Regions from separate parts of the Homo sapiens genome. Here region 1 is linked to region 2. Evidence: promoter capture Hi-C in 16 types of primary human blood cells and fetal thymus (Javierre and others, 2016). All regions are on one chromosome and are shown on one strand. Each heading gives the region's core, a stretch centred on a gene start or on the middle of the fragment in contact. The rest is flanking DNA. Distances are from core to core; before and after follow the strand shown. Region 1 has its middle 43 kb from the start of TMPRSS11B. Region 2 holds the start of STAP1 (signal transducing adaptor family member 1).

What was found. The method cuts DNA at HindIII sites, captures the fragments that hold promoters and counts their contacts. A CHiCAGO score of 5 or more calls a contact.
Region 1: a contact is called between a fragment that was not itself captured here and the fragment with the promoter of STAP1 in region 2, in 1 of 17 cell types (total CD8 T cells). The highest score is 5.3, in total CD8 T cells.

Annotation. Positions count from the first base shown.
Region 1 is chr4:68,287,629-68,290,713 of GRCh38, reverse strand. No RefSeq gene overlaps it. Among named protein-coding and RNA genes, the nearest start is that of TMPRSS11B, 43 kb to the right of the region's middle. The HindIII fragment of the contact is 1,325 bases long and covers 792-2,116 here.
Region 2 is chr4:67,557,018-67,560,071 of GRCh38, reverse strand. STAP1 (signal transducing adaptor family member 1) reads right to left here and starts at 1,345. Exons shown (of 9, transcript NM_012108.4): 1 at 1,143-1,345. The coding sequence starts at 1,262. The HindIII fragment of the contact is 12,125 bases long and covers 1-3,054 here.

The sequences.
Region 1 (3,085 bases), core at 205-2,704, 730 kb before region 2:
TGGTTGGATTTAAAGAAAATATGGTCTGTAATATATGCCTTTTGACTAGATTTTTAAAATCCATTTACATGTGGTGTTTTTATTATGATTAAATTTACGTTTGCTGTTTACTGTTGTCATATATATACATTTAATTTTTTCTTCTTTTTAAATATATATTTCTTTGCACTAAGTGAACATGTTCCATTTTACTATTTTTCATCGTTATTTCCTTAGTGATTGCTCTAGGGCTTACCAGATATATATGGTAAATTATCAGAATCAACTTCAGATTTATACTGACTTAAATCTCTGTCCTCTGTAGAGACATTATTCACATATAGTTCCAGTCTCTTCCCATTTTTGTGATATTAGTATTACTTTTATGAGTAAATACTAGGTATATATATTTATGGGGTATATGAGATATTTTGATACAGGCATACAATGTATAATTATCACATTAAATTAAATGGGATATCTATCCCCTTAAGCATTTATCATTTCTTTGTGTTACATGTGGTATTATTGTTATAGATATTGCATCTATGTATGTTACCAACACAACATTACATTGTTTTTATGACACTATATAATTGTATGTCTTTTTAGAAATGGAAACAATTTGGAGAGCAAGTATATATTTTTATCTTTGATTATACTAATCATATTATTTACCATTATTGGTTCTCTTTAGTGAAAGGTGAAAGATTTATACAATCTGAAGATAAATCAGAATATTATTGGTTCTCATTATTCGTTCCTGTGGATTCAGGTTGCTATTTGTTGCCATTTCTTACTCTAACAAAGCTTTGCTCCCAATCATCTCTTTTGTGCTGTTATTGACAGACATGTATATTTATAGGTGATATGCCCAACGATATGACTGTATGTATACATGCTCTATATACTTCCTTCTGAAGTTTGTTCAAAGAAAAAAGGAGAAGAAATGTAGATTTATACTATCTTTTATAATTGTATAATGACCTTTATTGGTGCTCTTTCCTTTATTGTGTGGATTAGGCTTGCTTAATTGGTTTCAATCTGAAGAGCTTCTTTTAGTGTTTCTTATAAGACAGGTTTGCTAGCAACAAGTTGTCTGTTTTTGTTGGCTTGGGAATGTATTTTTTTTTTATTTTTTATTTCCTTCAGTTTTGGAAAATAGTTTTGTGGTAGATAAAGTTCTAGGTTGAATTTTTTCTTTCATTAGTTTGAATATGACATGCTAGTGCCTTATGGGTTCTATAGTTTCTGATGATAAGTCAGCTATTCATGATTTTGGAGTGCCCTTGAACGTCATGAGCTGTTTCTCTCTTGTTTCTTTGCCATCTTCTGTCTTTACCCTCAGTCTTTCTCTATGATGTTTCTGTGATTGGATCTCTGTGTTTATCTTACTTGAAATTTGTTGTATTTCTGGCCTTTGTAAATTAATGTCTCATCATATTTGAAGAGTCTTTAGGCACTATTTTTGTAAGTTTTTTTCTGTTCCCTTCTCTTCTTTTTTTTCCTTTTCTATTACTTTCACTTTGTGTATGTTGAAATGCTTAAGATTGTCGCAAAATTCTGTAAGACTGTCTTCGTTTTTCTTTATTTTCTATCTTCTGTTCTTTGGGTTACACAATGTCTACTGACCTACCTTCAAGTTGGCTGGCTCTGTCTTCTGCTATCTCATATCTACTGTTGAGTTCTTGTAAATTTTTTTTAATTTCAGTTATTGCAGTTTTCAACTCCAATATTTCCATTTGCTTCTTTTTAAAAAATATAATTACTATCACTTTCCATATATCTTCTATTGGATACTGCATTGTTACTATACCTGCTTTTCCTCTTTAGTATTACTTCTTTTAGGTCTCTGAACATATTTATAATGATTATTTTGAAGGTTTTGCCTATTAAATCCAACACCTTGTCTCTTAAACAGGCAGGTTCTGTTGCCTGCTTTTGCCTCACGTGGGAATCATACTCTCCTGATTTCTTTTCAGCATGTCATTTAAATTTGTGTTAAAAACTCTACATGTTTGATAATAGATTGTAGCAACTGTAGATATTAGATATCCTCTTTCTGTGTATTTTAATCTGTGGCTGATGACTAGATGGACTATTTTAGCGAAGCCTCTTTCCTTTGCAGTGTTAAGCTTGATATTGCTATGCAAGGGTGCAGCCTTGGTATGCTCACATGTCCTGTAATAATGGTGGTTGCAGGAGGACATTCTTTGACTGCCTCTTCTACGGCTGAACCCTGCTGTTAGCCTTCACAAGTTGCTGATTGAGTGCTCTATTACTTTTGATAATGGCCTGAGAGTATAAATTGTTCCACAGTCTGATCCAATAAAATTCAGTGATTCTTTTGCAGCGATAGTTTTTGAGGTCAGTATTTGATCATTGCTCAGACCCCAGGAAGATTTTTTTCAATCTGTATCTTTGGTTTCCTCTAATAAATTAGTTTGCCTGTGGCTTAGCATTTATGTGTTCTGAAGCTAACAGCTTCCTCTTAATTATTTACCAGAAAGCCTCCGTGTTTTCAGAGCACTCTTAGGATTACAATTTTCACACTGTTTCAAATAAAGTAAGTTCCTTTGGGAAAACATTTGTAGCTCTGTGTTTATGGCCTGACTCTCCCCTGTGCAGAGTGTCTTGACCTTGACTATAGGACTGGGGGCATGGACAGTGGTGCATTTCTACTTTGGCCTTTATTCTCAGTTTTCCTCTCCTCTCATGGAATCTCCAACTGGGATAGTGGCTATTTGGTACTCAGTGTTCATGAATAGAACATCTGTGTTATGACAGTGGCTGGATGGAATATGGGAGATCCTTCTTAGCCACACTTGCCTGGAATTTAGCCTCTGTAACACATACTTGGGTATGTGCATGAAAAATTCAGGGCAACGTTGCCTCCCAACAAGATACCATAGTCCTCAACTGGGAGCTTCAAAAGTGGGAGCCCTGTGGTATTGTTTATACCTCTCTGGAATGATGGAGTTTCTGTTACCATGAATTAGGAGGTGGACAAATGAGCATGTTGTGGTTTAATTTCACCAAGAAATAGTGGAGTTTCTTCAGCACATATTTCTTTATTTGTTGTATGTCCTTAGGACAATTCTTAGAG
Region 2 (3,054 bases), core at 96-2,595:
ACTTCCCTTTCCTGGCAAAGTGTGACTATGTGGCTTACCTGTGGTGACAAGATTGAATTTACATTAAAAGCATATAGGATCAATCTAAAAAATTCTAATATAACTGAAAGGTAATTATTTATGCATGTTTAACATCCATAACAGAATACAAATTACCATGTCTTTACTCTCAAATAGTAAATGATCTGATTATATATGTAAGAAATGTGAATATGCTATTATAGATTTTTCATATATATAATTTTTCCACAAGTATTCATAAATCCTCAGAAAATATATTTTAGCATCATTAAACATTTCTGATGGAATTTCTGAAAACCTTAAAATTTTTCTAGTTTTAGTCAGTATACAATTTCATAAAATTTGACCTAACTTAATGATTTTTTTATTTAATAACAGGCAATTTTGGGCTTATTTCTCTAATTAATTTCAAGTCATCCATAATTACTGTTTTAAAAGTAATGATTTTAACTAACTATAAGTTTTAATTATTACATTTAAAAATACAGAATGCTTCATGGATTTTCTTAGAGCAAAGGTATTTATGTAGCTTAGTGTACTTAATACCCACAGTAGTACCCCAAAAATTAAAAGTCACTATCTTGAATAGTATTTTAGAACACATAACTATATATAATGTTAAACAGTATGAACTTTGTCATTTTAACAATTTTTACAAAAGCCATTTTTAATAATTTGATCATTATAAACTTCAAATGACTCAGAACAGGAGCAGGTTTAATTTTAATCATGATATCATTTTATCTTAATGGTACATGTCATCATTGAAGCATAGCAATAAATTGTGGAGAAAATACAAGAAACATTTTATCTCCCAAGCCAAAATCTTTTGTGATATTTAAATAAATTCTTTGGAAATTTAGCTTATTGACTTTTTTATATTAGTGCCTTAATATTACAACCTCTGTTATTATACATATTATATATGTGTATACATACAGGTTTAAGCCAGACATTGTATTTAAATTATGAAAAATTGGAATCATTTTTCTGAGCTCAAAGAAGAGAAGATGATTTAATTTCAACAGAAACAAGGAGGTCTTAACACATCACATCACCATGAAATAAATATTAAATTAAAACAGAAGTCTTAGGTTTAACATTATCATCTATAGACTCACCCGGTATCCTGACCGCTTGATTAATAAAAAACCTTCAAAGTACAAAGGTAGAGCAGTAATCTTTAACCTTTCCTGGAAGATCCTGCGAGGGGCTGGTTTTGGGGGCTTCTTAGCCATCATACCCCTCTCTTTGGTGTGTGGTTTGGTTTCTCGTCTCAAACAAAATGAAATCTTCCTTCTGTGAGAGGAAAAGGCAACTGTTCAAAGAGGAAGTCCCAAATTGCTTTTTAACCACCAACACTACCACCAACAGGACACACACACACACAGACGCACACACACACACACACACTTTTTTTTCCATTACTTTTTGTGAGGTAAGAAAGAACAGGTGTAGACTGACTTTCAGAGGGCAATCTCTGGGTAATCCACATGTGCTTAGATTTAAAGCGCAAAATAAACAGAAGATTAACATCACCAGAAGATGAAAGAAACAGGTGTAGAGATTGTGAACTTTAGGGGAGATATCAAGAACACAGTTATTCTTTCTATCTTTGTTTTTGTTTATTGGTGTCCATTTTTATTTGCAGAAGACATGACTTGAATAAACTCAGCTTCATTAAAAATTACTTCATAGAATAATTTTATTAGTACTACTTCTGTTGGTTAAATATTTTAGGGTCAAGTTTTGTGTAAATAAAAAAAATAGTTGTATCTCATGCTCATTTGATGCTTCACTAAATATAAACCACAATTATGGGAACACGGAATATGGAATTTTTTTCTTTTTTCTTTCTTTCTTTTTTTTTTTTTTTTGCCAGTAGATATTCCAAGTACATGAGTTCCCAATGAATATTTAGTGCTATGTTTTGAATGTGTCCTCCAAAACTTATGTGTTAGAAACTTAATCCCCAATGCAACAGTGTTTAGAAATGGGACTTTTAGAAGGTGATTAAGTCATGAGGCCTCTGCCCTCATGAATGAATGAATTAATTAATGCTGTGGGAGTGGGTTTCTTTCTCTTTTTTCAGAGGCAGGGTCTTGCTCTGTTGCCCAGGCTGGAATACACTGGTGCAATCACAGCTCACTGCAGCCTTGACCTCTCAGGCTCAAACAATCCTCACACATCAGCCTCCTAAGTAGCTGGGACTACAAGGCACGCGCCACCACTCCTAGCTAACTTTTTCATTTTTTGTATAGACAGTATCTCCCTATGTTGCCCAGGTTGGTCTCAAACTCTTGGGCTCAAGCGATTCTCCTGCTGTGGCCTCCCAAAGTGCTGGGATTACATGTGTGAGCCATTGCACCTGGCCTGGAAGTGGGTTTTTTATAAAATCAAGTTTGGCACTTTCTCACATGCTATCATCCTCTCTTGCTCTTCTATCTTCTGCCATGGAATGATGCTGCATGAAGGTCCTCATCAGATGCTGGCCATGTTCTTTGACTTCCAGACTCCAGAACCATGAGCGAAATACATTTCTGTTCATTATAAATTACCAGTCTGTGGCATTCTGTTACAGCAACACAAAGGAGTCTAAGATATTTGGCAAAAAAATATCTGGCAGAGAAAGCTGTAAGTTTTCAAACTTTTATTTTGTTCTTTTGTGCTTTCTGAGCTGCAGACCATTGATACTATGATTCATGGATGGACTTCCCACAGTTATCTAGTGAGATTTATAAAGCTATACTGGGGCCAAAGTGCACTCAATGGTTGCATGTAGGAAATGGTCCTTAAGAGATTGGATTTGGCGTAGCACAGTGCAGGAAATGATGGGAGAAAAGAATACTAGAAGGAATTTTGATTTGTCTTACAGGGGTCCTAAGAATTTCTACCATTGCCTATTTCACACTCAGTATTTCAGAACTACTCTAGATTTAGAACAGCCTGGGCCCAGTGAGACCAGCCTATTATTAGAAATCAAAGCAAGTCAGGAGTCTTCAGTCTGATTCTCCTTTCCTAATGGAGAGACTG